Regions from separate parts of the Homo sapiens genome. Here regions 1, 2, 3, 5, 6 and 7 are each linked to region 4. The links are contacts of gene promoters, found by promoter capture Hi-C in human tissues and cell types (Jung and others, 2019). All regions are on one chromosome and are shown on one strand. The core of a region is centred on a gene start or on the middle of the fragment in contact, and the rest is flanking DNA. Distances in the headings are between cores, read along the strand shown.

Evidence for each region. The method cuts DNA at HindIII sites, captures the fragments that hold promoters and counts their contacts. A contact is called where the count stands out against the background at its distance.
Region 1: a contact is called between a fragment that was not itself captured here and the fragment with the promoter of ZNF521 in region 4, in 1 of the 25 tissues and cell types used here (lymphoblastoid cells).
Region 2: a contact is called between a fragment that was not itself captured here and the fragment with the promoter of ZNF521 in region 4, in 1 of the 25 tissues and cell types used here (IMR-90 fibroblasts).
Region 3: a fragment that was not itself captured here is called in contact with the fragment with the promoter of ZNF521 in region 4 in 2 of the 25 tissues and cell types used here (H1 embryonic stem cells and mesendoderm cells).
Region 5: a contact is called between a fragment that was not itself captured here and the fragment with the promoter of ZNF521 in region 4, in 1 of the 25 tissues and cell types used here (heart left ventricle).
Region 6: a fragment that was not itself captured here is called in contact with the fragment with the promoter of ZNF521 in region 4 in 2 of the 25 tissues and cell types used here (dorsolateral prefrontal cortex and small bowel).
Region 7: a contact is called between a fragment that was not itself captured here and the fragment with the promoter of ZNF521 in region 4, in 1 of the 25 tissues and cell types used here (mesendoderm cells).

The regions. Positions count from the first base shown.
Region 1 is chr18:25,791,450-25,794,603 of GRCh38, reverse strand. No RefSeq gene overlaps it. Among named protein-coding and RNA genes, the nearest start is that of SS18, 300 kb to the left of the region's middle. The HindIII fragment of the contact is 4,204 bases long and covers 1-3,154 here.
Region 2 is chr18:25,841,928-25,845,499 of GRCh38, reverse strand. No RefSeq gene overlaps it. Among named protein-coding and RNA genes, the nearest start is that of SS18, 250 kb to the left of the region's middle. The HindIII fragment of the contact is 5,651 bases long and covers 1-3,572 here.
Region 3 is chr18:24,946,675-24,950,192 of GRCh38, reverse strand. The region is part of intron 1 of LINC01894 (long intergenic non-protein coding RNA 1894); the gene reads left to right. Among named protein-coding and RNA genes, the nearest start is that of LINC01894, 40 kb to the left of the region's middle. The HindIII fragment of the contact is 6,134 bases long and covers 1-3,518 here.
Region 4 is chr18:25,350,193-25,353,585 of GRCh38, reverse strand. It overlaps ZNF521 (zinc finger protein 521), which reads left to right and starts at 1,420. Exons shown (of 8, transcript NM_015461.3): 1 at 1,420-1,581; 2 at 2,639-2,679. The coding sequence starts at 2,640. RefSeq lists a silencer at 1,325-1,394. The HindIII fragment of the contact is 6,455 bases long and covers 422-3,393 here.
Region 5 is chr18:24,841,604-24,844,824 of GRCh38, reverse strand. No RefSeq gene overlaps it. Among named protein-coding and RNA genes, the nearest start is that of LINC01894, 140 kb to the left of the region's middle. The HindIII fragment of the contact is 3,586 bases long and covers 18-3,221 here.
Region 6 is chr18:24,921,766-24,925,368 of GRCh38, reverse strand. No RefSeq gene overlaps it. Among named protein-coding and RNA genes, the nearest start is that of LINC01894, 64 kb to the left of the region's middle. RefSeq lists an enhancer at 784-1,469. The HindIII fragment of the contact is 5,508 bases long and covers 1-3,603 here.
Region 7 is chr18:25,755,248-25,758,756 of GRCh38, reverse strand. No RefSeq gene overlaps it. Among named protein-coding and RNA genes, the nearest start is that of SS18, 330 kb to the left of the region's middle. The HindIII fragment of the contact is 5,504 bases long and covers 1-3,509 here.

The DNA.
Region 1 (3,154 bases), core at 153-2,652, 440 kb before region 4:
AGTGGGAAACAGAGAGGCCCACACTCCTCTCATGGCCATGGGTTGTGGTAATTGCTGATACTTGGATGAGCTGTCAACGTGATAACTGTTTGTCATGTCCCACTTAATTGGAGCCCCATAGAACAATAATGAAGTACCCTCTCCATGCAGATGACTTTGTGATTGATGACCTAGCTGAGGAAATAATTTACAAATACAGGCCAAAATTCAGCCTGGTGATGGATCTCATCTGATATTCTCTTGGTCTTTAGAGTGTGGCTCTTTGATTGACACTCATGGTATTGAAATAACCCAAGAGAAAAATCTTGCCTCTAGACACAACAAAGCCCCCTAAATTGAGTCACTCTTATTGAAATGGCGAAATTTTGTTAGCTTCTTTTCAAGCTGACTGAAGGTTTAGTGCATATATATATTTAATGCTGTGTGAGTGAAAATATTACATTGGAAGTAATATCAGTTGATTGACGTAAAAAATTGAGTTCCATTTGTGCAGGGTCGTTTCTCAGTTAGATGTGCAGAAGCAAGAGGGTGCTGGTGGCCCTGGTAGTCTCAGCATAGTGACGGCTCCTTTGGGAGGAGGTGTTTGTGAAGGGCACAGAGGATGTGTTAGTTTCATGATCAATTTCCACTCCCACAAGCTTTCCCAATTCCTTTCAACAATGAATTGAGTAACATAACAATACATTTTTTTCTTTTGCTGTTCAAGATACTCACTGTTAGAAATATTTGGGTTAATTTAAAAGTTATAAATGAAAGATAGAATATTTCAAGAAAATGTGACCTAATAACCTGTGGCAGTCATTTGTAGAGAAAGGTGCTATTAGTGCTAAGAAGGGTGATTGAGTGCTATTTTAAAAAAATAATTAAATGGGCTAGTATTCATCAGGGGCTGCTCTCAATAGCGTATTCTCAATAAAGGCAGAGGAATCACTCAAACAAGAGGGTTCGGTAAACAATGAAAAGAAGAAGGACATCAAATTATGTGATTAACATTGTCCGTTGCAATGTAAAGTGCAATGCATTTATATAATGTAGACAGGTTCTTGTATTTGTATTTTCCCTTTAGAACCATATTAAATTGAATTAATGTTTATCTGTTACATTCAGAACCTAGAAGTGTGTTCCTAAGGATCTTCAGGAAAGAACATAGAGCAACCAACAATGATGTACAGTGGACCTGTGAGGTCTCATTCAATTACAAAGCGCGTATAGGAAAATCCATCCCTTCGTTTACTCAGTCATCCACTAATTCTCACAATTACATATTGAGGAACTACTAGGTAACAAACATTTGGGCTAAAGTTAGGTTTATATCAAATCTGTTATAAAAATGCATGTTGTTATAGGTATTACATATATAAATGCATGTTTACTTGCATTCATTGGAGTATTGTTGAGCACCTGTTATGTGTAAGGGACAGTGCTAGATATGACTGGAAGGTAGGAATGAATTGGAAACAATACTCTGCATCTTTAACAGAGTAGTGAGGTGCACATGTCAGTTCTGAGATGGGTAGAGCTTGCTTTAGAGAAGCTGCCTTGGGGTAGACAGCATTCGAACTGGTTCCTGAAGGCTAGATTGGATTTCCCTAGGTGGAGATGGGGAAAGAGAAAGCAGAGGGAACATTTTAAGGAAATGTTCAGGGGTAGAAAATGGCAGGGAATGTTTTAGGATGACCATTTGGTGGGGACAGTGTGGGTGCCTAATGATTGCATGAGCTGAGCAGAACAGCTGCAGGAGATGAGGGACCAGATCGTAGCAGGCTTCCTTTCAATCCTGGAGTGGAGAGTTTGAGCTCCGCATTCACACAATGGTGCAGCATTTGTGTTTCCTGAGCAAAGAGTAAGAAAATCAGAGCTGGGCTATAACAACCTTTATCAGATGGTGGAATGGGGACTCTCTTTAAAGGGGGCAGCCTTAGGCAGGGAGACCAACTGTGCAGGCAGTTGGTAGGGACCCAGGTGAGAGGACGTGATAACTATTGATCGTGGAGGGTAAGGAAGGAGAGGCCAAGATGGCGTCACACTTTCCGTGCCTGAGTGGGGAGAGGGACAGACAGAGATGGGGAATGTTTGGGACTAAAGATGGTAAGTTCCACTTTATATTGTATGAACAAAATACACATCAATTTCTCCTGAAAGCAGAAATGGCTTTGCTTGCTAGAATTAAGTGGTCAATAGTTTCCTAAAGTTGACGTTGCTCAGGGAGCGATTTACCATGGCAGGGAAAAGCAGTCTTAGGAGTGCTAACATATCTTTCTCATCATTAGATTTCAGGAATCACAGACAAGACTGTGCCTAAGTGGAGACAGGTAAATAAAGCTTCCTCTCCCCAGCCCCCCTGCGCTCCGCACTAATAGAGATCCAGCTGCTGGGAGCAATGAGAGCAGAAGTGATGTTCGTGGGATCAATGCAACCCTGGATTCTCTTGCCACCAGCCCTGTCTCCTGGGGAGCCATTGAGTTAGTGGAATCAGCAGTGGAAGAGAGGGTGAAATGATATTGGCATGACTTCATTCCCTCAGACATTAGCCAGCGGTGGCTTTCTTTTGTCCATTTTCTGCTCACCTTCGTTGTCTGGCACGTCCTTTTTGTTTTACCTTCTCGTATTGGTTTTCCTTCCCCCAGTTTCTAGATAAGTCTAACCTGATTTGCTCCCCCATCCTCTCTTCTTTTAGTCCTTCCTTTCGCTATATTCCTGCCTCCTACCTTGTTTTTTATTTTTTATTATGAAATACTGCAAACATACAGAAAAAAAATCATCGAGAATAAGTAATGTAACAAACACCTACTTACATACAATGGAACTTTAACGAATGTTAACATTTTGCCTTATTTGCTTTGGATCTTTTTTTATTTCTTTTTTTATTATACTTTAAGTTTTAGGGTACATGTGCACAACATGCAGGTTTGTTACATATGTATACATGTGCCATGTTGGTGTGCTGCACCCATTAACTCATCATTTAACATTAGGTATATCTCCTAATGCTATCCCTCCCCCCTCCCCCCACCCCACAACAGGCCCCGGTGTGTGATGTTCCCCTTCCTGTGTCCATGTGTTGTCATTGTGCAATTCCCACCTATGAGTGAGAACATGTGGTGTTTGGTTTTTCGTCCTTGCGATAGTTTGCTGAGAATGATGGTTTCCAGCT
Region 2 (3,572 bases), core at 1,014-3,513, 490 kb before region 4:
TCCCTGTCTGTCTCAAAGGGTAAAACTCGGGTCAGTGTGAGAGGACGGCAGGGAGAGAGATTTTAGATCGACATAAAGAAAACTTCCTATTAGCTAGTGGTTTAACAGTACCAGAGTGCATCTCTTATTTATGTCACAGCTCAGTGCAAGTCAGGAAATTCTCTAGGGCAGCCTTCCTGAGTGTTCTCCATGTGTCCAATCTCCCTTCTCTTGTGTTGGTCCTGCATCAACATGCACTGACCACATTGTTACCAAAGGAGAAGAGAAAATATGGAAGATCATGCAGAGAGTTTGTGTTCAGGCCAGAAAGTGGTGTGCATCATTCTTTCCATCATTAGATTGGCCCCAAACCCAATCACATGAGCCCAATTTAATGCAAAGGAGGCTGGGAAATGCAGTCTTCCGGGATGGCCAAGAAGAGGAAAAGGAAACGGGATCTGGATGCATGACATGGTCTCTGCCCGAGATGCTAAAGCAGAAGAGAGAGTAAAAAGTAGAGCTTTTTATTTTATTTATTTTATTTTTTTACAATGTCATCCTCACTCCCCTCCCCCAGGGGGGAAGATAATAACAACTATAAATTGCTGCCTGGAATAAGTCCCAATTGTAATAGGAGGACAGAAGGTCAAAAGGACTGCATAGTTAGAAAACTTAGAAAAACCTAATATGTTCAAGTCAGCAGGACCTGATGGCTTGCCCTGTAGGATACTGAATGAATTTTCAACTTTCATCTTAGGACTGTTAGATAGTGTTTCCCCCAAATCACAGAGGATTGGAAAATCCCCTAAGGATAGCAAAAGGGTAAACGAGGTGCCCATCTTTGAGAGAGAAAGACAGGATGACCCTGAAAATTTCAGAACTGTGAGCTTAACATCGATACCTGGGAAGATCTTGAAATAAATCACCAAATAATCAATTGAATAGCACCTGAAAGGACATAAAATACTAAGTAGCAATCAGTAAAGCTCTGTAAAGAGCAAATAGTGCCAGACCAATTTAATTTCCTCCCATGATTGTGAGAGGCTATGTAGACCAGTGGAATTGATTGATGGGATCTATCTCAATTTTAGTAAAGATTTTGATTTCTTAACTAAGGCACTGTCTTTGATATGTTATTAAAGTATATTTCTGTCTACACTTCTGCTAGAGGATAGAAGGCTTCACCCCAAGGGGAGTTATCAATCTAGGGGGACATATTGAGTGCTATCTCAGAGGTATTGGGGCTAGGATCTATCCTACTCAATAGCTATTTTGATGGGCTGGATGAAGGAATTAAGATTATCCTCATGAAATTTGCAGCAGGCACTAAATTAGGTGAAGTTGTTGCTGCTCAGCAAGACAGAAATAAAATTCAAAATGGCCTTGACTCATTGAGAAAATGGCTCCACAAAGCTGGGATAAATTTCAATGGGGACAAGTGTAAAGTGGCACGGGCACCCCCACAGCCCTAGAATAGTGGTTTGGGCATACTTGGCGCTCAGCAAATATCTGCAGCACCTTCCTTGCAGTGTTGTTGTGAAGATCAAAGTGTGATAATGATGCGGAAGTGCTCTGTAAACCACAAAGTGCCTTATAAATGGTAAAGGTCTGCCCCAATAAGAGGAAACTTATTATTAAAGGCAAGGAAATATGTCCTGTGAGGAAATGTTAAAAGAAGTGGAGCTGTTTAATCAACAGAAGAGAAGAAAAAGAGAAGATTTCATGAATGTAACCATTTTATAAGGGTTTTAACAAAAGAAATGATTTTCTCATCTCTATTTGTGTGAAGAAAAAATGAACTTGAATAACACAAGACATATTTCAGTTAGACATGAGGAGGAACTTCTTACCTAGGTTGGGTCCCCTATGGGGACACCACGCTTCTCTTTCCTTGTAGATGTTACACTTGGTCAACGTTAGCCAGCTCACTGCATAGGATCTCTGCAGGCCCTTGTTATATCTGTACTATCTGGAATAGGACTTGACATCTAGTATATACACAATAAATATTAATAACGGTTGAATGTGTGATTGTCAGGTATAAAATATTGGCTAAAAACTTGGGGAGTCAACTTTCTTAGAGATCTTTAAAAAATAAGGGTGATTTATTCTAGGAGACAAAATCTTTCCAAACATTGATTTCATGAGTGTATGTATTTTAAAAAGAAGTGAAAATACTTATGATATATTCTCATCCTAGTCTTAGCTTTGGCCCTCATGGATAGGACTACTAGCAAAAGAGGAAAGGAGGCAAAATCTTACGATCTCAGTCCCATCAATACCTTGTTTCTAGCCACAGAACCCTCATGAGGAAAAAGGAAGAGTAAGGAAAGTACAGCTAGCTATTCATGGTATCTGCTAAAATTGGAACCATTTTCTATATCTTAACTGTTCATTTCCACATCTGTTTTTCTAGAATCTCTGGTCCAGGCCACAGAAGACATAATCAGTGGGTTGATGTTGGAGTATTCTCTCCCCAGCTTTGCCCTAAGGCTTGGGAGGTGACAGGATGGGCCAGGAAGGTCTCTGCTCCCATTGTTGGGGTATTTATTACTGGTATTTATTCCCAGTTGGGATTGTAGACTAATCTCTCCCCAGTCCTTCCACTAAAACCTACTTTAAATGGATTATTGCATAATTAAGATGTATCTTTTAAAAATGACATGCATTATTTAGTTTCTAAGTAAAGCCATAAATTTTACACATGAGTGTTCTGGAATTATGCCCAGAAGGGGTCATTCTTTGAGGCAGTCAATCCAGATGGCTGCCTTGCAGCATCTACAATTGCCATCAGTGGCTTGGACCTGGGGTGGGTGTCCATGTCGCTTCTTGTTTTCTGGGTAGCAAGATGAACTGAGTGTGTGTTGAGCTGTATGTATCAAAGGCAGGGATTTTTAATCTGGAGTTCATACACTGGCCTCTGATGTGTCAGTGAATCCCTGTGGCCAAAATACGTTTCCCTGTGTATATGGGTGTGTGCTTTTTCCTGGGGAGACGACCCATTGGTTAAGAAAGAGTGTACTAGGTTTTTAGGAGAAAATCAAGTGGCAAGAGGGTTGGGTTGTCCCTACCAAGATGGAAGGAATGGCAGAGAAAGTGTTTTGGTACAGTTTGTACCATAGGGAGGAGGTGCTGAAGCCGGCTGTTCAGCCACTGGAGTCAGGTGGGGAGTCACTTACCATCAGAGAGCTCTGTCCATTGGCAGCATCATGCCAGCCAGCAGGGACTGCAGCAGGCCCATCCCAGGAGGATGGATGCTGGCAAAATGGTGGGGATATGGACTGCAGCTCCAAACTCAGAGAGGCATGTAAAATTATTTTATTTTCTAAAATACAATTCTATTAGAACCTCTATCACTTTGTGCTGGTAGTGAATTTAATCTCAATTATTTCAGAGTTTCCCCCTCTCTAGGGCCATTAGATGGTTCTAGAGGGTTGACACAATTTCAAGGCCTGGAGAGACCTTGTGGATATTGGTCACATGTCTCCCTAAGCCATTGTTGAGATGGCCATTGTCCAGTCTGTGCCTGGGCAACTAGGAAGGTAACTGGTGAGAGTGATGGGACTCCTGGGGAGTACGCATGGGAGGTGGGC
Region 3 (3,518 bases), core at 883-3,382, 400 kb after region 4:
AAATCTCCATCTCTTAGCCAAGTTTTGTTAGCCTCAGGTGACGGTGTTAACACAGTGTTAGGCTGCCTTTTCAACAAAATACAAACAAAACCAAACAGAAGAAAAACAATCAAACCAACCCCCCACTGCCCACTGGCTTACAGAGGCAGCAGGATTGTTGTGTCGAGGAAGGGGCCAGAACAGGAGGAGGTGGCAGTTTTCTAACAAACCGTATTGTTTGAACAGTTTTATTTAGTGTGAAAAAAAAGGCTCTCATACTGAGGATTTATTTGGAAGTTCTGGGCAGATTAACTTTTGGTAAGAGTCAGAACTAAAAACTTTATTGGGAACGCCACATACACTCCAAAGACCAACAAGAGAATTTAAGTTAGATGTGATTAGTATGAAGAAAGTTACATTTATTGTACTCTTATGTATAATTGATCACATGAAAGGCCTTTTGTAACTATAAAAGAGACAGCCCATTAAATTGTTTTGCCCTGAGGATTATACAAATTTGCAGATATCGGATTGGATTACCAGCCTATTGGTTTCATAGCAATGGTAAATCATTAAGATGTTTATTTTTATTCATCTATCTTTCTTGTTATTTATTATTAACCAAGTAGCTCCTCCCAGTTTTAGCTTTACTTTCAGACATCTGAACCAATCATTCTGCCTCTTTTCTATGATCAAACTGGTTGCTAGAACTCTATGGGTCACCTTTGAGGATGCTTAAAACAGAAAAAAAAATATTTGGCAAGAACAGAGCTATGTTGTTTAGTCATGGACAGAGAGTCTATAGAAAAAGTCAGAGACCATCTTATCTCTTGATTGGAGTAGAGAGGCCATTACATCCTTGGCATTGTGTTGTGCAAATTTGTTGAGCTCATTTCCAACCCTTCCATTATCCAGATAAGAATGTGCTCAGACAGTTAAAGGTTAAGTTATGAATATTATCTGGCACATGTGAGACAAGCACATTTGTTTTAATGTTTATATTAGAAAAGGTGATAGAGGTTGGTGGCTATTCTTTACTTATTTCAAATGGCCCAGAGGAAAACTTAAGCTTTAACTCTTCCTACAGATGTTTCAGGAGGGTATAGCTGCAAATCACAGCCTACATCACAGAATAACTGAATCCAGTGCATCATTGTTTGTTCCCTTGATTTAGCATTTTTATTTGGAGAAATATACCTGGTGGATCTCAGTCATTAGAACTAAGTGTGGTTGGAATCAGATGGTCGTGTTGCCACGTAGAACTTCTCCAGTTAAGCATCTCACATTTCTTCCAGACCCCATAATGAGTACCCAGCCTCACGTTTTTCAGGCAGTGCAGAAACTTTGGGATGTGCTCACTGCCAAGGACACAGCCACTATCTACTGTTTCCTTTGACTCCAAAGCAATCCACTAGGCTGATTTTTGCTTTGTACCAGATCAGTTCCACTTTGAATCTTAACTGGAGCAGTCAGAAGGTGTGTGTGTATCTATAAATATAGGGTTCTGTCAGCTTAGTCCAATTTGGTTGAGAGAGGGGAGAGAGAGAGAGACAGACAGACAGAGAGAGAAAGAGAGAGATGGTGCTAAATAAATGGTATTCAGTTCTAAATGAAGCCTCTCAATTAGTATTAAACATTTTTTTAAACAATCAAGATATTAAAGCTAGAAAGGAGTTAATGAGCCTATAGAGAAAGTAACTTCTAAAGATCATTGTGCTTGGGACGGTAATTGCTTTATGACATTTTGATGTCATTACAACATAAAATTAGGAGGGCAAAATGTTTCAAGAGTGTTTCTTCAGATACCCTGTTAGGAAGCTATTAAAAGGCAAGAGTATGCTGGCAAAATGATTTCAGTGTGTGCCTTTGGATACCTGCTTAGCAAAACATCATGAACTGAAGCTACAATGCAAAATGATTCCAATGTGTGTTTTTCAGAAAACACCCATTCCACTGCTGTTATGTCCGAATTGTAGTGGATGATTAAACTTGAAAGCAAGAACGAACGTAAGGGAAAAAAATCAGTGGAGATTAGTCTCAATTATGATGTCAGAGTGAAATGAGACAATCATAAGCATCAGGATTGAACCTCAAACCCTCCCTGAACCAAGCACTGTCTGAGCAATGACGTTCATGAGATGCTGAGACTTTCCAGTTTTTCTCATTATGGTAAAAATGACATCTTTCACTGAAGGACCAAAACAGTTTTATGTATTAAGAGGTTGCAAAACAATATGGTTTGTGGTAAGGAGGTCAATTTGCAGCTGAAATTCTAAATCTGCATAAATGCAAGAAAAATCCTTTTTCTCTAGAAAACTGGAATATTGAAATACTCTTCTGCTATTGCACCCAGAAATTAATTATAAATGATAATTACAATGGAGGCTGCCTTTTTAAAAAATTCTCTGAAACATATCCAAGAATCACAACCGGGTGCGCACCAATATCCTAAGTCTCTTACACAATCTCTCCTTTCTCCCCCAGATGTTGCCTCCTGCTGTGCAATCTTCACATCCAAAGAGGCACTAAGAAGCAAAACATCTGGGATGCTCTATTATAGAAGTTAGTGCTTAGAGGAAAAGAGGGTTAAAATAACTAATGTCTCTTTCTGTCAGTCCATGAAGCCAATTTTACTTTTCCGATGTTTGCCAGTAAGCACAATGTTCTGTAAATGCGACATATTTTAAAAGTCTCCTGGCCTGTATCTTTCATGCTTATCAATGGGTTCATTGGAACTCACAGTTATGTTTTGTTTTGTGTGTGATGTTTATCTGTTTGCATGTGCAGATATGTATGTGTGTGTTTCTGTGCATATATGCTGTGCTGGTGGCAGTAAATATACTTGTAATGGTAAGAGAATGTGAAACTCAATTAGCCTGTTCTCAGAAATAAAGAAATAAGAAATTGGTTGAGATTAATATCTCCCATCACAAACACAGTGGGAAAGTTGGTTCTCATCGCTCCTGACAGCAGAGTGCCAATGGAACCATTAGGCACCATGCCACCTCTCTTCTCATGGTACCACATATAATTATGTGATGAGGTGTGGAGTCTACATTTTCAAACAAAAGAGAGATGGCCTCTGGATAGATTTAGCAAGACCATGGTCTTTCTACGTAAAAGACGCTGCGGACAAGGACACCTGAATATATTTTCTGTCTTGTATCCCAACATCCTTGCTTTTACCCAATTCTGTTTCATGTTAGAATAAAATAATTGTGGTTTTAGATTAGTTGAACATGAATCAGAGTAAAGAAAGAGACAGGGCCCTATTCAGTTTCAATTCAGTTACAGAATTTGGTATATCTCTTAGTTTTAGGCCTACTGATAGCTGCTTAGAGAGTCACTTCTGTTCGGGCAAAAAATGCCCCTGTCAGAATGTATTTATGAGGTTACTCTGACTGCATAAACCCCTTCAACTTTGCTCAATGATGCTATCAAAGCTCTCAACGGAGTTTGAGTTTTAATTATTTACTATTTATGTATTTTGTAAACTCCTCAGAGAAAGTGATGCTATAACAGCTCAGTATTATTATTAA
Region 4 (3,393 bases), core at 171-2,670:
CAGTCATGCAAAGTTAAATTTGACTACAACTATGATTTCACTTTAGGAATTACTGCAGATGGATTGAAAACTCATTTAATTATAATGAAGATATTGAAAAAAAACATACTGTATTTGCAGCTATCCACATGAGGGTCCAGGCAGTTTACAGGTTAGACTGGAAAAAATACAACTTCCTTAAAGCTTTGATGTCTTTGCATGGTGGCTTAATAGATAGCTGTACCTTAATTTTACAGAACGGAGAATTTTTAAAATCTGATTAAGAACAATAGTATTTGTACAAAATTCTGCCTGTTTTGTGTAATTAACCGTATTCTGAATCTCTTAATTTCCACCAAGACTTGTGAATCTAAGCTCTACTTGGTAGCCCTCTCAGGCATTTATAACTTGACAAGCGTGTCCAATCAATAAATAGCAACAACAATAATAATACTAAAACATCCTTTCCCTTAAGATAAGGTAAAAGAAGGAAACAGGTGATGGTTTCTTGTTTTGCGATGGGAGCAGGTGAAAAGTTAGAAAACAAAACTGCGAAAAGAAACAAAAATTCCCACCGACCTGCAGACATTTCAATTTATTTTAGAAACTATTTTCTTGTACACATATTCTTAAGTGCATATTTCCTTACCTCTTGCTTAAAGAAAAAATCAACAGAAAGCTTTATTTTCTGGACAAAGATCTATGTCAATTTGAGAATGTTAAAAAAGTGAACTCAAAGCTGTCTCTTTTGAATCACATTATGACATTCGTCAGCATCAATGACTTTCTCTAAACGAGAAAATAAAAAAAAAGTCCAAATAACTTGCCTTTATAAAGATTCCAAGTAAGAGAGACTTGGCAGGTCTGCGGTTGCCATAAAAAAGATTTCCCGAGTCCGGGCAACAACAGCAGACACACTTTTTTAAAGTCCGACAATGCAAAAGCCAAGCAATGAATTTCCCCCCTCCTTTCTTTTTCTTTTTCTTTTTCTTTTTTTTTTTTTTTTTTTTTGCCCCCTCAAGAACAAATTGTTGCCTCCTTTTACATCCATCCTACCAGAAGGGGGACCTTTCCACTTTCAGATGCTCCTCTGCTTTAATTTCTGAAGAGGAAAAAAAGCGAGCAGAAGAGCCCCGAGATCCGCCGTGGAGCTCTAATAACGCAGCTGCGGCGGCGGCGACGGCGGCGGCGCGGGGTGTGCGAGCGGCCGGGCGGGCGGCGCGAGGGGCGGCGGCGCAGGAGCGGGCGGGGCGCGCGGCGCGTGGGAGGCGGCGGCGGCGGCGGCGGCGGCGGGCGGGGCTCGGGGCGCTCGGCCGCCGCCTGGCTCCGGATCCGCGCGCCGCGGCCGGCGCCTCCAGTCCGGGTCTTGGCGGGCCCCCTCCTCCCTCCCGCTCCCCGCGCTCTCGCCTTTTAATCATGCCCCTCTGTCTGTGTGTGAGTGCAGGCAGGCTGACAATGATTTCCTCAGTGATTACGTACAGAGCGAGTCCCTGCGGGTTAGGGGCCCCCTCTGGAGCCATCCTGATGGCTTTGGGGGCCTTGCTTCCATTTTCCATTATTATGTGGACTACCGGAGCGACAGCGCAGTCCAAGACCTTGCAGGTTTGTGATGAGGAGGGAGCACACAGCACACTCCTTCTCCTCCTCCTGCTCCCGGCTCTCCTCCTCCTCCTCCTCCTGCTCTCGCCGCCGCTGCCGCCGCCGCTGCCGCCGCTGCTGCCGCCGCCGCTGCCGAGGCAGCCGTAGACTTTAGAGCCCCGGTCCAGCGCCAGCCGCCGGCGCCGCGCCCCCGCCCAGAGAGGGGCGCCCCGAGCCCGGGCCCCGCACACCCCCTGCACACAAGCAGCCCCGCACACCACCTGGGGGCCGTCGGCTCGGGTGCTTTGGCTTTTTCTTTTTGAAAGAAATTACTTTAGTGTGGGTTAAGAAAAAAAGGGTGGGGGGAAGGGAGAAAAAAAGTATTTTTTTCCCTTTGCTTATTTTCGTGGCCCGTTCGCATCTGCCTCGGATGGTGGGAGATTTTTCTTTCCAAGACCTTTTCATCGCCTTGCAGGGTCGATTTCCCCCCCTCGTCCCCCCAACTACAAAAGAGCACGACTCGCTTTGTAAACAAATCAGTGTTATTTGTTTTTTTCCGGTGGGGGGGGGGGCGGATTTGTTGAAAAGGAAAAGCGGTAAAGAAAAAAAAAATCACCCAGACGCTTTTCTTTTTATTAGTTTTTTTCTATTCGCATGAACTATGTGAATTTTGATTGAGGTGGAAATAGTAACGGATTTTCTCTTTTTAGTGTAGCTGACGGCTCTTCAAACATTGTCTTTGGGGTTTTTTTTTTAGCTTTTTTTCCCTCCTTTCCTTTTTTCTTTTTCCTTTTTTTTTTTTTTTCTTGGAGATTGGGGGTGGGGGTCGAAGGCTGGGAAAGTTTGGTGCAGCAGCCGCCGCCGCCGCCGCCGCCGTCGTGCAGAGCGCGGAGCTCGGGCAGCCGCGAGCCCCGCGCGCGAGCGCGAGCCGGAGCCGGAGCGAGGAGCGGAGCGCGGAGCGAGGGCGCGAGGGAGGCCGAGCGGAGGGCGCGAGGCGCCGCGGCCCGAGGGGCGCGCGGCCACGAGGAAGTATAGTTTCTTTCAGGGCTGAATTGAAACAACTTCAGCTGTTTGCTTTTAGGATGTCTCGCCGCAAGCAAGCGAAACCGAGATCCCTCAAAGGTAAGGAGGAACCCCCTGCTCCCCGCTTTCCCCCATCCGCGAGTGTCACTGTGGGTAGCGGAGCGAGGGCTGCGTGGCTGCGAGGCGTGTGCGCGCGTGAGTGTGAGTGTGAGTGCGGGGGCGCGCGCGCTCCCCTCCCCGCTGAGCCCCTAGGTGGAGTGAGGGTGAGGTGTCGGGGTGGGGGGAGACGAAGACGGGAGGAGGATCCCCGAATGGGGCGGCGGTAGAAAGTGGGCGAGAAAAGACAACAACAACCGAAAAAAAAAAAGAGAGAGAGAGAGAAAGAAACGAAATTATCCGGAGAGGGAGGAAAAAAAAATATCCCGTCTGAGATCTACATCTGGGCTGGAGGAAAAAGTTTCTGTTGTGTGTTTTCGCAAAGAATAAATATGCAAAACCGTGCGGTGCTTCTTTTTTCCTTTTCTTTGGAAGAAGAAAAAAGTCATCTCGGAGGTGGGGAGCAGCCCCCGCTCGTGACAAACGTGGCCCGGGGTCCCGGCCGCCGCCTCCCGCCCGCCCGCGTCCTGCTTGGGTCCTCTCCGCACGTCGCCGGAGTAAACAGACCCCGGCCGCCGGCCGCGGGCACCGGACCCCGGCTCGGGCCTCAGAGCACCCCTCTTGGCCATTCCCAGAAGTTGACCGCCCCTCGCCCCTACTTCTCCCCGCCGCCCCTGGAGTCCTTTGCGTTTCGCGGTGGGGTCCAGCTCTCCGTCG
Region 5 (3,221 bases), core at 561-3,060, 510 kb after region 4:
GTATGTGAATCATATCTCAATTAAAAAATCAAAAATTAAAAAGCCATTGCAGTACAAGAAAGAGTAAGCAAGGAATGAAGGAATGAAGAATGACTGGGACTGGGTAAGAGGGTTACATGGATCACTCATTCATTCAGCACAGTGTTATGAGCACCTACTACACCTGGCCTTGTTGCAAACAGAGCTGACTTAGAGTGAATGAAACAGATGTGGCTCCTGTAGTCTTGAAGTATCCCATCTGGTAAGTGAAATAGACATTAATTCAACAACGTACAAATAAGTATGAGATTACAATAGATTACAAGAGATGGATGAATAGATTGATGATAGGTGAATAGATAGAAATATATATATATATGTATATATATATATATATACACACACACACAGAGAGCACATACTTATTAAATGTAGAATCCTACTATATTATGCAACATAGCTTAATAAATCCTTTTCAATCAGACTCCAGAGATATTACAAATGAGTCATCAATAACATCCTAATAGCTAAAGACATTTTGGGTTTTCTCAATCCTTAAGTCAAAAGTGTTTCTCCTTGAGGTTTCAACAGTGGTAAATGAGACAGCATTGAAGCCATCATTCTTACCATTGATGGGGAAGCCAGAATGGATGGTCATCTCCTGCCCTGTAAGCACTGGCAGAATGAGGCAGGCAACTACGAAAATGAAACCAGAGAGGGCCGGGCAGGGTGGCTCATGCCTGTAATCCCAGCACTTTGGGAAGCCGAGGGGTGTGGATCACTTGAGGACAGGAGTTCAAGACCAGCCTGGCCAACATGGTGAAACCCTGTCTCTACTAAAAATACAAAAATTAGCTGGGCATGGTCGTCTGCCTCTGTAATCCCAGCTACTCAGGAGGCTGAGGCAGAAGAATCACTTGAATCCCAGAGGCAGAGTTTGCAGTGAGTCGAGCTCATACCACTGCATTCCAGCCTGGGAGATAGAGTGAGACTCTGTCTCAAAAAAAAAAAAAAAAATGAGGCTGGGTGTGGTGGCTCACGCCTGTAATCTGAGCACTTTGGGAGGCCGAAGTGGGCAGATCACAAGGTCAGGAGTTCGAGACCAGCCTGGGCAATATGGTGAAACCCCATCTCTACTAAAAAAAATACAAAAATTAGCCAGGCATGGTGGCGCGTGCCTGTAGTCCCAGCTGGGAGGCTGAGGCAGGAGAATCACTTGAACCTGGGAGGCGGAGGTTATAGTGAGCCAAGATTGTGCCACTGCACTCCAGCCTGGGTGACAGAGTGAGACTTTGTCTCAAAAAAAAAAAAAAAAAAAAAGTGAAACCAGAGAGGCATAAACTTGAGACTTTACATATGGTGGAAATGAGACCCTGAGAAGTGGAGTAAATCACCCAAGTCTGGCAACTTGTGATGATGGAGCCTGGCCTTGAACTCACAGGAAGTCTACGCTCCAGGGTCTGAGCTCCTAAACACCAGCTGTGTTGCTCCCCTGTTTGAAAGGGAGCTATCCTAAAATAACAGTAATAAGTAATCATGGATGATGTGGTTTGGATCTGTGTCCCCACCAAACCTCATGTCTAATTATAATCCCCACTGTTGGAGGTGGGGCCTGATGGGAAGTGATTGGATCATGGGGGTGGTTCTTCATGGTTTAACACCATCCCTCTTGGTGCTGTTGTGATAGTGAGTTCTTGTGAGACCTGGTTGTTTAAAAGTGTGTGGCAGCACCTTCCCTGCTTTCTCCTGCTCCAACCACGTAAAACGTGCCTGCTTCTGCTTGGCCTTTCGCCATGGTTGTAAGTTTCCTGAGGCCTCCCCAGCAGCAGAAGCCACTATGCCTCCTGTACAATCTGCAGAACTGTGAGCCAATTAAACCTCTGTTCTTTATAAATTACCCAGTCTTGGGTATTTCTTTATAGCAGTGCAAGAACTGAACTAGTGTGCTTTCCCCTCAAGGCAATCTACTTTCACTTCAACCAGGGCCTTGTTGGGGAAAAATATGTATGCCACGTCTCAAGAGGAGACTCCTTAATGACAGAAACTAAAGGAACCTCAAAGGCCAGAAAGACAGACTTTGAAAGCTTCACTTTCTAAATATCCAACCTGTTTCATAAAAGGCCACATGCCATGTCCAACACATATTCAGTCAGCTTCTTACCAGCTCCAGGATCTTCTCTCTCAGTAGCTGGCTGACAATCCTGCCACTGCTGCTCCCCGAGCCCGGGGCTCTCCCTCCCATCTCTTTTCTCTCTCCCTTTCCCTCTTTTGCTTGGGCACCAACCATCCATGACCCTCTTTCATTTCTCCTGACTCACTTTCTTTCTCTCTTTTCCCTCCCTTTCTCATATCTCTTCCTCATCTCACAAGATTATTAAATATTCTCATATTAAATAGTTTAATATGTGAATCAAGTTCATAATACATATACATTTATACTCGGAAGCTCATAAATGTATAAAGAAATGCTGCATAAATAGATGTGCATCGCTTCATCCAGTTTCTGAAGGAGCCTCACTCAGGCTCAGCCCTCCAATGAGCTGAGTTTGTCGCTAAGAATCTAAGCATTTCCCCTGGTGAACATTCTAATTTCTGTCCTGTCCTTTCTTTGTATATCTTTCCAGTATCCTTAAGAATGATCTTTGAGAAAACAACACGGAAGAAAAAATAAAGATAGAAAGTCATAATAATGCCTAATGTGTACTTTGAGCTTTGTATCTGCAAGGCTTCACAAATACTGTCCTATTTAATCTCCCAACAACTCCACAGCTAATGAAAGTATCATTGAATACCTACATGGATCATCTCATTTAGTGGGAGAAGAAAATAAGGCTTCAAGAAGCTGAACAACTTCCTGGTGCAGGCACAAGAAAGAGGCAGAGCAAAGCCGAAGCCTCCTGACCCCGAGTAGAGCACTCATGTCACTTTACTACAACTGCCTCAGGGAAATGAGGAAGAAGGCCAGAGATAGATGCATAAAGGAATATAAGGTGAGCGAGGAGAAGATCAAAGTCAAGAAAGAAGGTGGGGGTGTGAGAGAGACGAAAGAATAAAGAACCACTGCTCTGGAGGGCGGTTACGAAATCTTCAGCTAAAGCTTCGGAAGGAATGTCTCAAGATGGGATACGCAGGAAGTGGAAAGTTATTCTGCAGGTCAGTGTTTTACTACGGATTGTGCTGGGCAGTGTAGGAGTTCTCAGACAGGGCCATGCCTCATGTCTCTGAAATGCTGTGGTTCTTAC
Region 6 (3,603 bases), core at 889-3,388, 430 kb after region 4:
ATGTGAAATCCAGTGGCTTCAGGTGTGGACAGTCTAGAGAGAAATCTCCACTTCGGTTCTTTGCAGGGAGCAGGGCCCATTTGCCCTACAACTTTCCCTTGTGCCCTGGCATTATAGGAATGTGCCCAGGCTTCTTGGCGGATGTCCTCTAGTCTGGCCAGCACCATAGGACAGTTCTCTCTGCCAGTTCCTGGAGCCCGCACCCTGTGGCTCGCCTACATCGGGCCCTAAACACAACCTCTCTCCATGTTATTACATTAATACAGGCAAGGGAGTTCCTAAAACCAGAATGGGACTGCAGTTCCCAAACCCCCTACCTCCTCCTGACCTGCATGGTTAGGTGCTGCCTTTCTGCAGGAGCCTGGATGTCAGCATCTAGATGCCTCAGGACCAGCTGTCCAATCCCCCTTCCACCAATCCCTGTTTTAGGTCCTCCATGAACTTTTTCTTAGGGGAAAGCAGAAATCCTATCCCATCCTGCTGCACTCACAGGAAGAGTTTGACAGTGGTTAAGAGATCATTCTCCTCATTCAGCACCTCGGTGAGGTGTGAATTTGCACAAGATGATTCAATATATTTTCTTTGTGTATTCTTCAGTATATTCATGCTGTCCGGTGAATTTTTGACATTTCGGTGTGCTGCTCTAAGCTGCCCGTGTTGGGGACCTGATCCTGACCCTGACTATGGCTTTTAAGCAAGGAGAGCCAGAATAAACCCAGACAAATAGTCCTTTGCAGTGTGCACTGGTGCCCAGGTAGCCCTTGGTTATCTGCTGTGTTCAGTCCTCCGGAGGGAGTGATGAAAAGGGCAGTCGGCCCTCCTTCCAAGATAGCTTGTAAGCAGTCCTGCCTTGAGGCTGAGGGTAGACGAGATGACCCCTCCAGTCCCATCCAGTCTTGGTATCCTGTGATTTCTCACGTGAGTCCATTTTGTGCCCTGGGCTCACGTACATCAATTAAAAACACAACAGTGTATGCTTCCACAGGAGGGAGGAAAATGAACCATAGCAGTCTTCCTATCCGAACCAGACCCCATTTTTCCAAGTCACCACCTTACTCTCATCTGTAAAGCGCTAAATAGCCTGAGACCCAGTTATCTTTGTGACAATCTCTCCCCAGGTGCCCCATCACGGTAATTACGCTCAGCGGGGAGCCTGGAGCTGCCCATCTCTGGAGTTAAACTCATTAAGACAGGAGACTGAGAAATCTCCGCAGAGGGTCCCTGCCCCTGAAATCATGGGCATTCCTCTTCCTTGGCTACCAGTTTTGGGGTTTGGAGGAGTCTGGGGTCTGGTCTGAGGCTCCACATTGCCACAGAGCTTGCTTTAACCTGGATTTGCTGTTGTGATTTGTACTTTGGGGAAGATACTTACTATGGGAGTCTGCAAAGAGAACAGGTTCCATTTCATGAAATGAAATGAGGATTGAAACAAAGCCATGGAGGTTGCTTATTCCAAATATTGAACATGATGAACAAGTTGATTTGTCAATATTTCTCAAAAAACTTAAAAAGAGCTTTTTCTCTGACAGTGCAAATGACAAGATATTTTTCCCTCTGTGCTGTAAAAAGAGTAAGTTTCAAGAACTTTGTAGGGTAGAGATCCCAGGGATGGGAAGAGGGAGGATTCCTGATCAGTAGGATTGGTATGGGTGATAAGGGGGGACACTCCCTTCTAATTAATTAGTGAAAAGAAAAGGAAGTTTCTGGAGGGAAAACAGTAAGAGTCAAGATATAGAAGATAATTGGAGCCCGAGATAGGAACTTGGTTATGAAGAGAGAAGTATGTTCAAGGAAAAGGAGAAAAGAGTAAGAGAAGGAAAGGGGAACTGGAGGAAGACCTAAGGTACTCTCTAGGAGAATAAGAACTTTCTAATGTCTCATAGTTTGATGAAGGTTTGGATAAGATTTTTCAAGAGATTAAAAAAAAAATCTCCATTTGTTTTGTTTAATGGAATGAAATGTCAGACAGGTGACCTGCACTAAAAGATAAGAGGAACTGAGAAATGTGCTCATGGCTGTGTAACGTGTGGCTTTTCTAGTCAAAAATAAATGCCAGAAAGGTCACAACCTATTTGCCTAAGTTGGGCACCAATATTATTTCTGTACTGGTCAACAAGGAACAACCTTGTACTCAAATATCTATCTGTGACAATACCTGGAAGAATCTGTGGATGTTGGACTTTATGAAGACAATAAAAAAATTAACTGAAATGACTGTGCTTATGAAATGAGAACTATATGGGGCAAATCATGAAATAGAATTATTGCAAGAAATCATACATGAATCTATACTGGGGTTCTGTTATCAAGTTCTATTTATTCCTCATTAAAAGAGTGGTTAAAAAACAAATTGAAACAAAACAAAAAAACCCTCATGGATGGTTGTGGATAATACTAGAGGGTTTGTTCTGATTTGGTTGGGATTTATTTTCTTCTCAAATTGTCCAGGTGCTTCTAAGCATCTTGAAATGCATTTCATGTGGTTTTTAGCCCACGGAAGTTTGTATTGCAATCATTGCAAAGCTCTGGGTTCTGAGCCTGGTAATTTAGAGAGGGAGGAAGAAAATCCAAGGTATTTCTTCCCTCTCTTTCTGCTTCAGGTGGCATTTCTATCTCCCTTGCAGTCCCAGATCCTTGGTGCAGGCCTGCCCTCTGTGACCTCACTTGCCATCAGACAGCATCTGGGTTCTGAAAACACCACGGCCTCAACTCAGACCTTCGAGTCCTAGAGGTTTCCTGTTGTTGTAAATCTCTGATTTGCCTTCCTGCCATTTTTTATGTGTTTGTTTGTTTTTGTTTTTGTTAACTGTTCCAACACCTTTATAACCAGTACCCCATATAAAATTCCCCCCATCGAGCTGATATGAGCTCTGTTTCTCTGGCTGGATTCCAGCTGATTAAGGCACTTATTATTTGGAGAAAATAATTAGAGAGTATATGTGATTTTTTTATTTAAAAAAAGAACAGGGACTATGCTAATTTATTGCTAAAGAGCATTTGTCCTTCTCACTTTAAAATATCTGCAGCCAGTTAATTATTAGTAAAGAGTCGTTTCCCTCTACTTTGTGGATGGTCTGGTAGCCCGCCTATGCTGTAGAGAAGATGGGTCTCCATTGCTCCTTCTGTGGGAAGAATAACTTCTAGCAAGGACCAAGGCTCAAGATGCATCCCTCATTGAGCAGAAGCTTAGAGTCCATGGCATTTCCTGTGAATCACTGTTAAAACCCTCCGTGGCCATAGCAGATTGGGATTTTAGTCTCTCAACAGTTCATACTCATGGTAGGCACAGGAGAAAACAAGGTTGGCCCAGAAGCCACTCAGGTCACTTGTGAGCAAAGACAAGAGGCAATTTCTCAGTGAAAAATTATGGCGGAAAGAAAAGTACAAGAGACCCACACACAGGAACTGAGGACATTTTGAGGCCCCAGCAGAGCTGAAGAAGTTGACCACTTGCAAGAAAGGCATGTCGGAGTTCGCAGTGAGTTAGGAAAGGGTAATTTTTAAGACCCATTTTATTAAGGAATCCCAGAGGACACACACACACACACACGAAATGAGAAGTGATGATTAGAGGGCCACATTCAGCAATTCAATTCAATAAAC
Region 7 (3,509 bases), core at 452-2,951, 400 kb before region 4:
ATGAATATGAATTATGGGTAATCTTAGTAAGACTTCTTTCTCTAATTGGAAAATTCAATTTGATTAAAATGACAATTCTACACTTACAGTCATATTTATTTCCATTTGAACCTACAAATGGTCTAAAAATGTTTTCAGAACGTTAAATGGGGACATAATGAGTTTCCTATGGTTGAGTAAGGATGCGCAAGTTAGTGTTATAACACTGCAATTAACATCCATTTTGACTGGGTTAAAGTTTGCCAAATTTTGCCTTTTTGCTTTCAACAAGGCAAAAGTAATTCTGAGGTAAAATAGTACTAGAAAAAGAAAGCACCACTGGAAACTAGAGAGATTTCATTGCTCAAAGATTTTTTTAAACTAACATACTTTCCTCAGGGAAATAAAATATATGAAAGAATCTCTTTGCATTTTTTTGACCCCAAGTGGAAACAAGGTCAATATTTCCTGTTAATCTTTTTTTTTTTTAACAAATCTTTCCCATTTTTCACAGCTATACACGTATGAACATGTTTCTTTACAGACCTTGTGCATGTAAAGTAGTGCAGTTCTAGTTTCCTACATATTTGTGTATTTAGATATGTTGGGCAATATTTTTATTCCTTTCTGATTATAATCTTGGTTATTACCAGAAATGAATCATAGACCTTCAAGTACAACATCCAATTTAAACCTGGCCTCCTTACACATGTTTAATAATATTTATTTGGTAGGGATAATGACCATGAAGGAAAAGGATTATGGACATATTGGGTTTTATTAAATATGTGGTCATATTTTACCATAAGAATATGTAAAATTCTCATAAGAAATACTACAGATGCCAGTCTCTTGTTGAAGTCTCTTGTTGTTGAGATTGGACTTCAAAATGGATGATACATAAGGCATTTATTTGCCACGAACCCCTGTTTTCTCATTTGTGAAATGAGAAGTTCCAGTCTCATGAGTTCTTATTATCCCCCATCCCAGACGATGAGATTCAGCTTGTTAAAAAAGCAGCTCTCATACATTTACAGAATATTTAGGCTTTACGAATCCTACTTATTGGTCTTTGGGAATTATGGTAATGGAGAATCAAAATGGTTTCAATGATTTCTTTTAAGCATATAGTCTTAATATAGGTCTTCAACATACTTTTATTATTGATCTAGTGCTTTTACCATGCAATTTTGCTAACATAAGGACTATTATAAGAGCAATCTGTGATATACAGAGTGACCACAAAGTCCCTATGTTTGACATTATGTCCTCTGATAGTAATTAAAAATGAAATCTACCAGGGACTGATTTAATGTATTTGAACCATCCACATGTAAGAAAACTTGTACCTGATTTTGCCCACTCTGGGTGCCAGAATTCTGGTATTAATTATCAAGTAGAGTTGGTTTAGTCCAGATATCTATATTCCTGAAGCCAATTCCTTGTAGTATAATAATAAAAACATAGTTAATAATGAGAACAGAATAATGATAACATTTTGACTTTGGAATTATACAACATCTCAGAAAGCACTTTTCGCAAAATTTCATTTTCTCCTCATGGCAATTCAGTGATATTTAAGTATGCACTATCAATGTAACATCTCCTTAGGCTGGAACTACTGTAGTTCTCAATTCAAAGAAATTTGATATCTTTTACCTGCTTATTTTATGTCTTCTGAGGATTTAGTGAATTCTCATATTTTTCTAAAGAAAATTTTAATATAGCCAATTCTAAGTTATCTATGCCATGATGGAATGAATAATAATTACAATAACTCCTTACATGTATACACTGTTTGACATTTATTAAACACTTTCAGATGTTTTACTACATTTTTGCAATGTACTTGCTACTTTATTACTTTTTTTTTTTTTTACAATATCTATGTTATAAAATAACATGGGTAATGAAATCAAGGGATGATTAAAACATCTTTAATAGAATTTTGAACCATTTCCCTGAAGAAGTAGATATAAAAATAATTATCAGGTAGTGATGTTTTAATTAACTTAGAACACACACTGAGTTTGGACCAATGCATGAGGGTGCCAGGTGAGACAGACATTTGCCCAAACCCTCAATTTCCTTGGTGTCTTGTCTTCCAAGGTTTTTCCACATGGAGTTTTCTCCCACATAGTGCTGAACTTCTTCCAGTCCGTGGGTGGCGAGAGGTTTTAGTAATATTCGTGCAGCAGATTCAAAAGCTCTGAGTCTTTCACTCACTACTGAAAATATAGAAAGGGGCTGAATTTCCTGTTAACTTGCCCATAATGGGGAAGATACTCATGTAATCCCTTGACTATAGCTTTAAGAGTTGGGAGAGATAGATCAGGAGTTGACTAGTGACCAACATAATCCTATGGCATTCCTAATAATTACATTTGCGAGAAGCTCGCTGTATCTCAGGGGAGCCAATTATTTTGCTGGACAGTATTACTTGTTAAACCAATCCAAATCCATTTCCCTTTCATTTCTCTAAAGGTACTAGCTCTTCCCACTGAAGTAGCAGAGAGGAAGTCAGTCTTATAGCCATAGGATTACATTTCAAATATTTAAACATTGCTATAATTTAGTGATCTCTTTTCCAAGATGGAACTCCCCAACTTCCTCAGGTCTTCCTCTAGCTGATGCTTTAGGTCTTTATCCTTGTCAGCCTCCTCTGGATGCACTGGACTTTGTGAATATTCTTCTAGAATGTAACATTCAGCTATGATCTGACCGATGAAGAAAACAGTGGGACCATAACATCCCATAATTGGGTTATGATTTTTCTATTAAGGCAACCTAAAATTAAATTAGTTCTTCCAGTTTCTGTAACACATTGTTGGTTCATAATGAGCTTATTGTCTAACACAACTTCTAATATTTTTCACATGGTTTGTTGACAAATGTGGTCCATTCTCATCTTTAATTTATAAAATTGATTGTTTTAAATCAAGCTCAGTACTTTTATTATTTAATCTTGTTTTTCTTTTAAATGATTATCTTAGCCTATTATTTTTGGTGTACTTGTTCATTATATTTTGCCTGTGTAGAATCTTTTGGAGAAAACTCTCTCCCTGTTCTTAGACTTTGGGCTATGAGAGGACACACCACCTCAAGCTTGGACAAGTGAAGTGATTTAAAGCATTAAATCACTGTGATTGAATTAGTGATGGGCACATGTCTCAAGTCAGGGCAATAAGCCTCAACCTAAGAGTTTGACCAGAACTCTTGGGCAAGAGGGCCATTCTTTTCATTATGATTGTTGAGCTGGTAGAACATAAGCCTGGAGATGCTAATGCCATAATTGACCTCACTTGGGAGAAACTGCCTGAAAATGAAGCAAGCACCGAGGAAAGTAGAGCCAAAATGTAGAAAAAGTCTGATGCTTGGTTGCTTTATCTGAGCAACTGGACACAACTATGCCTGAAATAATTTATCCACTGAACAATTTGTTTTCTGAGGGTAATTTAAACCGGGCTTCTTTCACTTGTAATCAAGAGTCCTGAGAAATATATGGGCTTGGGTTAACTCTCCCAGCTTTG